2 separate regions of the Homo sapiens genome follow, and region 1 is linked to region 2. The links are contacts of gene promoters, found by promoter capture Hi-C in human tissues and cell types (Jung and others, 2019). All regions are on one chromosome and are shown on one strand. The core of a region is centred on a gene start or on the middle of the fragment in contact, and the rest is flanking DNA. Distances in the headings are between cores, read along the strand shown.

Region 1 (4,842 bases), core at 175-2,674, 84 kb before region 2:
CTTTGTAGAAGCAATTGTGAATGGGAGTTCACGCATGATTTGGCTCTCTATTATTGATGTATAGGAGTGCGTGCAATTTTTGCACATTGATTTTGTATCCTGAGACTTTGCTGAAGTTGTTTAACAGCTTAAGGAGATTTTGGGAAGAGACAATGGGATTTTCTAAATATACAATCATGTCATCTGAAAACAGAGACAATTTGACTTCTTCTCTTCCTATTTGAACACCCTTTATTTCTTTCTCTTGCCTCATTGCCCTGGCCAGAACTTACAATACTATGTTGAATACAAGTGGTGAGAGAGGGTATCCTTGTCTTGTGCCAGTTTTCAAAGGGAATGCTTCCAGTTTTTGCCCATTCGGCTGTGGGTTTGTCATAAATAGCTCTTATTGTTTTGAGATACGTTCCATGAATACCTAGTTTATTGAGAGTTTTTAGCATGACAGGCTGTTGAATTTTTTCTAAGGCCTATTCTGTGTCAATTGAGATAATCATGTGGTTTTTGTCATTGGTTCTGTTTATGCAATTGATTACATTTATTGATTTGCGTATGTTGAACCAGCCTTGCATCCAAGGCATGAAGCCAACTTGATCATGGTGGATAAGCTTTTTGATGTGCTGCTGGATTCAGTTTGCCAGTATTTTATTGAGGATTTTTGCATCGATGTTCATCATGGATATTGGTCTGAAATTTTCTTTTTTTTTGTTGTGTCTCTGCCAGGTTTTGGTATCAGGATGATGCTGGCCTCATAAAATGAGTTAGGGAGGAGACCCTCTTTTTCTATTGATTGAAAGATAGTTTCAGAAGGAATGGTACCAGCTCCTCTTTGTACCTCTGGTAGAATTCAGCTGTGAATCTGTCTTGTCCTGGGCTTTTTTTTGATTGGTAGGCTATTAATTACTGCCTCAATTTCAGAACTTGTTATTGTTCTATTCAGGGATTCGACTTCTTCCTGGTTTAGTCTTGGGAGGGTGTATGTATCCAGGAATTTATCCATTTCGTCTAGATTTTCTAGTTTATTTGCATAGAGGTGTTTATAGTATTCTTTGATGGTAGTTTGTATTTCTCTGGGATCAGTGGTGATATCCCCTTTATCATTTTTTATTGTGTCTTTTTTATTCTTCTCTCTCTTCTTCTTTGTTAGTCTGGCTAGCGGTCTATTTTGTTGATCTTTTCAGAAAACCAACTCCTGGATTCACTGATTTTTTGAAGGGTTTTCCGTGTCTCTATCTCCCTCAGTTCTGCTCTGATCCTAGTTATCTCTTGTCTTCTGCTAGCTTTTGAATTTGTTTCCTCCCGCTTCTCTAGTTCTTTTCATTGTTATGTTTGGGTGTCGATTTTAGATCTTTCCTGCTTTCTCCTGTGGGCACTTATTGCCATACATTTCCCTCTATAAACAGTGCTTTAGCTGTATCCCAGAGATTCTGGTACATTGTGCCTTTGTTGTCATTGGTTTCAAATAACTTATTTGTTTCTGCCTTAATTTTGTTATTTACCCAGTAGTCATTCCGGAGCAGGATGTTCAGTTTCCATGTAGTTGTGTGATTTTCAGTGAGTTTCTTAATCCTGAGTTCAAATTTGATTGCACTGTGGTCTGAGAGACTGTTATGGTTTACATTCTTGTGCATTTGCTGAGGAGTGTTTTACTTCCAATTATGTGATCAATTTTAGAATAAGTGCAATGTGTTGCTGAGAAGAATGTATATTCTGTTGATTTGGAGTGGAGAGTTCTGTAGATGTCTATTAGGTCAGCCTGGTCCAGAGCTGAGCTCGAGTCCTGAATGTCCTTGTTAATTTTCTGTCTCATTGATCTGTCTAATATCGACAGTGGGGTGTTAACATCTCCCACTATTATTGTGTAAGTGTAAGTCTGTTTGTAGGTCTCTAAGAACTTCCTTTATGAATCCGGTTGCTCCTGTAAGGGATGCATATATATTTAGGATAGTTAGCTCTTCTTGTTGCATTGATCCCTTTACCATTATGTAATGGCCTTCTTTGTCTTTTTTGATCTTTGTTGGTTTAAAGTCTGTTTTATCAGAGACTAGGACTGCAACCCCTGGGGTTTTTTTTTGTTTGTTTCCCATTTGCTTGGTAAATATTATTCCATCCCTTTATTTTGAGCCTATGTATGTCTTTGCACATGAGATGGGTCTCCTGAATACAGCACACCAATGGGTCTTGACTCTTTGTCCAATTTTCCAGTCTGTGTCTTTTAATTGGGGCATTTAGCCCATTTACATTTAAGGTTAATATTGTTATGTGTGAATTTTATCCTGTCATTATGACGCTAGCTCATTATTTTGCCCACTAGTTGATGCAGTTTCATCATAGCATCAATGTTCTTTACAATTTGGTATGTTTCTGCAGTGGCTGGTACCAGTTTTTCCTTTCCATGTTTAGTGCTTCCTTTAGGAGCTCTTGTAAGCAGGCCTGGTGGTGACAAAATCTCTCAGCATTTGCTTGTCTGTAAAGGATTTTATTTCTCCTTTGCTTATGAAGCTTAGTTTGGCTGGATATAAAACTCTGGGCTGAAAATTCTTTTCTTTAAGAGTTTTGAATATTGGCCCCCAATCTCTTCTGACTTGTAGAGTTTCTGCAGAGAGATCTGTTGTTAGTCTGATGTGCTTCCCTTTGTGGGTAACCTGACCTTTCTCTCTGGCTGCCCTTAATATTTTTCCCTTCATTTCAACCTTGGTGAATCTGATGATTATGTGTTTTGGGGTTGCTCTTCTTGAGGAGTATCTTTGTGGTATTCTCTGTATTTCTTGAATTTGAGTGTTGGCCTGTCTTGCTAAGTTGGGGAAGTTCTCCTGGATAATATCCTGCAGAGTGTTTTCCAACTTGGTTCCATTCTCCCTGTCACTTTCAGGTACACCAATCAAACGTAGGTTTGGTCTTTTCACATAGCCCCATATTTATTGGAGGCTTTGTTTGTTCCTTTTCATTCTTTTTTCTCTCATCTTGTCTTCATGCTTTATTTCATTAAGTTAATCTTCAATCTTTGATATCCTTTCTTCTGCTTGATTGATTTGGCTATTGATATTTGGGTATTCTTCATGAACTTCTCATGCTGTGTTTTTCACCTCCATTAGGTCATTTGTGTTCTTCTCTAACCTGGTTATTCTTGTTAGCAATTCCTCTAACCCTTTTTTCAAGGTTCTTAGCTTCCTTGCATTGGGTTCAAACATGCTCCTTTAGCTCGGAGGACTTTGTTATTACCCACCTTCTGAAGCCTACTTTTGTCAATTTGCCAAACTCATTCTCCATCCAGTTTTGCTCCCTTGCTGGCAAGGAGTTGTGATCCTTTGGAGGAGAAGAGATGTTCTTGTTTTTTTAATTTTCAGCCTTTTTGCACTGGTTTTTCCTCATCTTCATGGATTTATCTACTTTTGGTCTTTGATGCTGGCGACCTTTGGATGGGGATTTTGTGTGGACTTCCTTTTTGTTGATGTTGATGCTATTCCTTTCTGTTTGTTAGTTTTCCTTCTAACAGTCAGGCCCCTCTGCTGCAGGTCTACTGGAGTTTGCTGGAGGTCCACTCCAGACGCTGTTTGCCTGGTTATCACCAGCGGAGGCTGCAGAACAGCACAGAATGCTTCATCCCAGATGGGCACCTGTCAGATGCCAGCCGGAGCTCTCCTGTATGAGGTGTCTGTTGACCCCTGCTGGGAGGTGTCTCCCAGTCATGAGACATGGGGGTCAGGGACCCAACTTGAGGAGGCAGTCTGTCCCTTAGCAGAGCTCGAGTGCTGTGCTGGGAGATCTGCTGCTCTCTTTAGAGCTGGCAGGCAGGAACATTTAAGTCTGCTGAAGCTGTGCCCACAGCCACCCCTTTCCCCAGGTGCTCTGTCCCAGGGAGATGGGAGTTTTATCTATAAGGCCCTAACTGGGGCTGCTGCTTTTCTTTCATAGATGCCCTGAGGCAGTCTGGCTACAGCAGCATTGCTGAGCTGTCATGGGCTCTGCCCAGTTTGAACTTCCCAGTAGCTTTGATTACACTGTGAGGGGAAAACTGCCTACTCAAGCCTCAGTAATGGCGGATGCCACTTCCCCCACCAAGCTCAAGCATCCCAGGTTGACTTCAGACTGCTGTACTGGCAGGGAGAATTTCAAGCCAGTGGATCTTAGCTTGCTTGGCTCTGTGGGGGTGGGATCCACTGAGCTAGACCACTTGGCTCCCTGGCTTCAGCCCCCTTTTCAGGGGAGTGAATGTTTCTGTCTCGCTGGTGTTCCAGGTGCCACTGGGGTATGAAAAGAAACTCCTGCAGCTTGCTCACTGTCTGCCCATAAGCCCTCCCTGTTTTGTGCTTGAAACCCAGGGCCCTGGTGATATAGGCACCTGAGGGAATCTCCTGGTCTGCAGGTTGTGAAGACTGTGGGAAAAGCATAGTATCTGTGGCTGGAGTGCACTGTCTCTCATGGCACAGTCCCTTGGGGCTTCCCTTGGCTAGAGGAAGGAGTTCCCCGACCCTTTGCACTTCCCGGGTGAGGTGACACCCTACCTTGCTTCGGCTCACCCTCCATGGGCTGCACCCACTGTCTAACCAGTCCCAATGAGATGAGCTGGGTACTTTAGCTGGAAATGCAGAATTCACCTGCCTTCTGCGTCAATCTCACTGGGAGCTGCAGACTGGAGCTGTTCCTATTTGGCCATCTTGCCAGCCACTTCTCCAATGCCTTTTAGACAGTAAGTACAAAGTATTTAGGCAGTATTTAGTAAACAGACAGTAAATACAAAGTATAATTTGGAAAATCTGTGCATTGCACTATAGCTTCTTTTGCTCATTTTCAGTAAGTCTTCATTAAAGTTTAAACTGAATGTTCTCTAACTGTTAGAGTTCT
Region 2 (5,056 bases), core at 1,314-3,813:
GAGGCAGGAGAGTTGCTTGGGCCCAGGAGTTTGAGGCACAGTAAGCTATGATTGTAGCACTGCGCTCCAGCCTCGATGACTGAGTGAGGCTCTGTTGAAAGAGAGAAGGAGGAAAGAAAAAGAAAGAAAGAAAGAAAGAGAGAAAGAAGAAAGAAAGAAAGAAAGAGAAAGAAAGAAGAAAGAAAGAAAAAGAAAGAAAGAAAGAAAGAAAGAAAGAAAGAAAGAAAGAAAGAAAGAAAGAAAGAAAGAAAGAAAGAAAAAGGAGTAAGGGGGAGGGAGGGAGAGAGGAAGGAAGGAAAGAAAGAAGGAAGGAAGGAAGGAAGGAAGGCAAGCAAGAAAGGTACATTGCCTTGGCTAAAATCATAAAGGAGTTCAGTCCAATGAAACTATCTCTTTAGTCTCATGAAGGCTTCTGACCCCCATTTTATGAAATTTTAAATTTAAATATCAACCATGTTTTCCTTCATTGTTTTCCAGTGTATTATATTGCGAAACTAGATTCTCAATTGACTGAGGTGTTTAATCCACTTGCAAATAGATTGTAAATGAATACAAAATAAGTCACTGAGAAGCATTTAACATAATTTAAAAATCAACAAGAAATTTGTCCAAATATTTAATAACATATTAATTTAAACGAGGGTTAGCAAGCATGTTACTACTTTTTTGAAACAAAAATCAGTTCTCCCATTTACTAGCTTCATAGCCACTGTTGACAATCCTATTATTTATTTTTCAGCCTTCCCTTTGAAAGATGCTTAGCAAAAATCAACTAAGTAACAACCAAAGATCTCATTCTCTTTAACATCTTCCAGGATCACAAATTTCAATTATTCTCTGCCTGAGTTATCACAATTCAAACTGGAGAATGAAGAGTAAACACAAGCAAAAGAAGATAAAATCTATTAAAAGATCGAGAGACACCAGACACAAATGGGTTAAAAGAAGAAGAAGAATTAAAGGTTATACTGTTTTGATTACACACATAGAGGCTAGGAAGAAGAAAATGAATTGAGATTACCTGTTAGAAATAGGCGGTTTCTGGTTTCTGGGAGCTGTCCAATGTACTGAGTGAACCATCATAACCACAACTTACCCCCTTAATAGGGACTGACGTCCTGGGCAGTTCTCTTTTGAACCGGGATGTTTCTACATTCATCTTTTTAGGCTATTTCTTCCAATCTACCTTTAAAATTATCTTCTAATCTGTCACTTTGACACAATGGGTCTTTTAAATAAATCTTTACACAGTACTGAATAATTAAGTAAATATAGTTATTGGCAAACAAAGAAAAAGAACCTTTTTGTTAAAATATTTGGGATACTCGAGATAATATAAAATGAGTAATCTCTTATTTTTCTTATGCCAAATTTAAAATCTCTTTCTTTTCTCAAAAATAACGATCTAACGATAGCCAAAAACTCCCTTAAATATATTTCAATAAATCATTGTTTCTGCACTTAAGTCTTACTGTAGGACAATACAAATCAATGAGGAAAATACGCCAGATGGAAGTGTTAGGTTTTTTTCTTTGTTCGGGAACAAATACTCGATCCGCAATTTAAAAGTCCGAAGACTCCTCAGCAGAGGGTGAGCTGATTGACTCTTTGGCTTATCAAGGGCAAATCGCATTTCTGAAAAGAGCTTGAAGTGGTTTTGTTTGTGAGGAGAGTTTGCTTTGTCCCCCACACTGAAAAGTATACAGCAAAGCCCGAGCATAGAAAATATCCTGAGCTTAAATTTCTCATTTTATTGCCATCATAACTTTTCCTCTTGGAATAAAATCCTCTATTTTATATGAGTAGGAGGTAAAGGTAGGGAAAGGAAAGTCAAGTATCTCAATTGTTACGCTGATTGCATCCAAACAGACTTTAGAAGTCAGGGTTTGTAACGTGGCAGGAGAGCTGTTTGCGATGCCCTGGAAAGAAAAGAAAGCCGGTTCCAACAGCGACTCTGGGGAATGCACTCTCGGTCCCCCTGCCATGCTTACTTAAGCTAATTGAAGGTCTTGCCTTTCAGCAGCCGCTGCACTGGGATACCAGACAAACAGCTCCCCTTGATGCCAGGCAGGCAGGGCCCCTCTTCAGGACATCATTAAAAGCACATGCACTTGCTCCACATCCATTGGCAGATGGTGGCAAGATTCAAGACTCCTACCCTGAAGTCAAGGAGAAGCCATCGCGGTGGAAAACATCCTCGCTTTGAAAATCCAACACGAAATTAAAGAACTACACGAGATAAGGAGCCTGGAGAACATTAGTTGGCTGCAGGGGTGAAGACAGACACAAAAAGCACAGCAGGTAAGAGCTGGGGGTTGTTGCCAACAAGGAACTGTCCCGGGTGGCGCAGAGAAAAGGATCTCAGAACTGGAGCCCTGTCCCTTTGAGTCTTCCATGCGTGCTCAAGCTTGTCATCTTCCATAAGCTTCGAGAGAAGGGACGTTGTCAGAGCATTCCTTATCGGTGCGACTAATCCTGTTATCAGCTTGGTTATAAATATTTAATGTTCCCTGGCCTTTCGGTGATGGTGCCCCATCAGATTCAAGGCTGTTAAGAATCCCCACCAGCAACCTCGCCCCTCCCTGCGGAAAACCGATGAGAGGCAGGGCCAAGCCGAAGCGATGGCGGCCTATCCGGAGAGCTGCGTGGACACTACGGTGCTGGACTTCGTCGCAGACCTGTCCCTGGCCTCCCCGAGACGCCCTCTCCTCTGCGACTTCGCACCCGGGGTCTCCTTGGGGGACCCAGCCCTTGCGCTCCGAGAGGGAAGACCCAGGAGGATGGCGCGGTTTGAAGAGGGGGACCCAGAAGAAGAGGAGTGCGAAGTGGACCAGGGGGACGGAGAAGAGGAGGAGGAAGAGGAGCGCGGAAGAGGTGTCTCCCTATTAGGCCGCCCCAAGAGGAAAAGGGTGATCACCTACGCCCAGCGCCAGGCCGCCAACATCCGCGAAAGGAAGCGGATGTTCAACCTCAACGAGGCCTTTGACCAGCTGCGGAGGAAGGTGCCCACGTTTGCTTACGAGAAAAGGCTGTCCCGGATCGAGACCCTCCGCCTGGCCATCGTCTATATCTCCTTCATGACCGAGCTCTTGGAGAGCTGTGAGAAGAAGGAAAGCGGCTGAGCCTGGTGTGGAGAGTCTGCCCTTCCTCGTCTGGTAGTGCTGGGGTGTGTCAGGACCGGGCACTGGGTGAGGCTAAAGGGCCGGGAGGGAGGCCCCAAGACAGAACGTCTGGTCTTCTGGAGGTCGGGGTCGAGATTGTAAGATCCCCACATGCGCTGAGCAGAGTGGCTGCTGTAGAGTTCATATCTACGCGACCGCCCTAAGTGAAGTCGGGGTCAGGGGCGAGCGGGGAAGTCAGAGAGCGTGAGGCTGAGTCGGGGCCGTTCAGGCTGCTCCTAAGAGCTTCCGTGGGCTGGGTGGGTGGGAAGTGAACCCTCCTCGCAAATGGCAGACTTTGGAGCTTCTATAAAATCTAACCTCTCTTCTTTACATTTTTTTTTTCATAGAGATAATAAAGTAGAAATTCTTACGTTTTTAAAAAGCCTGAAGGGTCGGTGGTACGCCATCCCCAGCAGGCGCTCCAGCGGGCGCCTGCGTGGAGGGTCTGAAGCAGACGCCGCAAGGGTGCGGGGGTGCGAGCTTTTCTGCTAGCCAGAGGGTTCTGCCTGGTCCTCCGAGGCTTGTCCAGGAACTGAGGAAAGGAAAAATGGAAGGCAGAGCAGTCGAGAGGAACTGCTGACAAAGTGCGACCTCTGAGAAGGGACACCCTTCCTGTCTTCCATTCCCTCTCCCTCCCGTCCCTTCCTCTCTCCCGCGCGCAAGCCCTCTCTCTTCCTTTCTCCCTCCCCTTCGCCACCTAGTTGATCCCAGACGGACCACAGCTCCTTGTCCCAGGGCCACAGTGGTGTTCATTCAGTGCCTTAGCCAGAGTGCAAATCTACGCTTTGCATCTAAAGTGCAGCATCAGCTTCCGTGTTCCAGTGCCTTCTTCAGGCCCCAGGCCAGAGTAAGGGGCGAGTGCACTCGGGTCACTCCTGGGCCGCAGGGGGCCTTGGGCGCCCTGCAGCTTCGCCACCAGCCACCGCTACCAACTGTCCCCGGCCAGGGGTTGGGGTATGAAGGGGCCTGGATCTTTCTAGGAGCAGGGCCGCCTGAGCGCGCTCACTTTTACATTTTTAGCTGTAGGTAGGAAAGATAGCTTTCACTCTAATGGCTTCTAGAGACTACCAGGGGAGACAAAAAGTCCAAAGAGGAGATGCCTTCTGACGCCTTGCAAAACGCCTGCCATGCAGATGAGGTTGAAGCGGGTCCATGCTGAGAGGCCGCCTCTAGTTTGGACCCGTGCCATTCCAGGATTCTTCCTTCTAGGTGACGTGCTAGTACCAGAACTGGGGTCTTTCAGAAAGGAGTGGGTAACTGAGGCGAGGAACCCGATTGAATAATGCCAACCTAAACATAAATTCAGTAATCCTAAAGGATAATCCCCAGTGATTATTCCAACACTTTATTTCGCCCCTCATTGCACACAGAAATAGGCGGGAGCCTGTGCGAACACACAATTCTCTTAATCATGCTTTCGGAAATAGAATTCATTTCATTAATAAGTAACATATACTCATCCTAGAAATTTTGGAAAAAAAAATTTCAAAAAAGAGAAAATTCGAATCACTCCACGTTACCATACTGTTAGCATTTTCATCTATTTCTTTCCAGTCTTTTTTTCCCTGTGCAGTTATAAATTCAATATATTTTACTAATTCGAGATACTTTGGGATACTGATATTTTTCCACTTGGCATTATAGAAGGTGCAATGTTTTCCCTTAACTTTAATATTATTCAAATGTGATTTTGATTACCATATCTTATTGTCTTATCCATGTATCACACCACCACCAGCCCTTTCCAGATAGATAGCTATTTCCTTTTTAAAAAATAAATGATGCTGCTAAGAGCATTCTTGTAAATGCCTTCTCTGTCTATTATTACTTCCTAACATTTGATACCTAGAAGTGAAATTTCTGGATTCAAGTTTGTGGATATAAATGGCCAGATT

The links. Contacts are between HindIII fragments. The study calls those that stand out against the background at their distance.
Region 1: a contact is called between a fragment that was not itself captured here and the fragment with the promoter of FERD3L in region 2, in 2 of the 25 tissues and cell types used here (neural progenitor cells and thymus).

What each region holds. Positions count from the first base shown.
Region 1 is chr7:19,226,424-19,231,265 of GRCh38, reverse strand. No RefSeq gene overlaps it. Among named protein-coding and RNA genes, the nearest start is that of FERD3L, 83 kb to the right of the region's middle. The HindIII fragment of the contact is 5,574 bases long and covers 1-4,211 here.
Region 2 is chr7:19,142,928-19,147,983 of GRCh38, reverse strand. It overlaps FERD3L (Fer3 like bHLH transcription factor), which reads left to right and starts at 2,563. Exons shown (of 1, transcript NM_152898.2): 1 at 2,563-3,202. The coding sequence starts at 2,622. The coding sequence ends at 3,122. RefSeq lists enhancers at 1,517-2,165, 2,631-3,830. The HindIII fragment of the contact is 11,409 bases long and covers 1-5,056 here.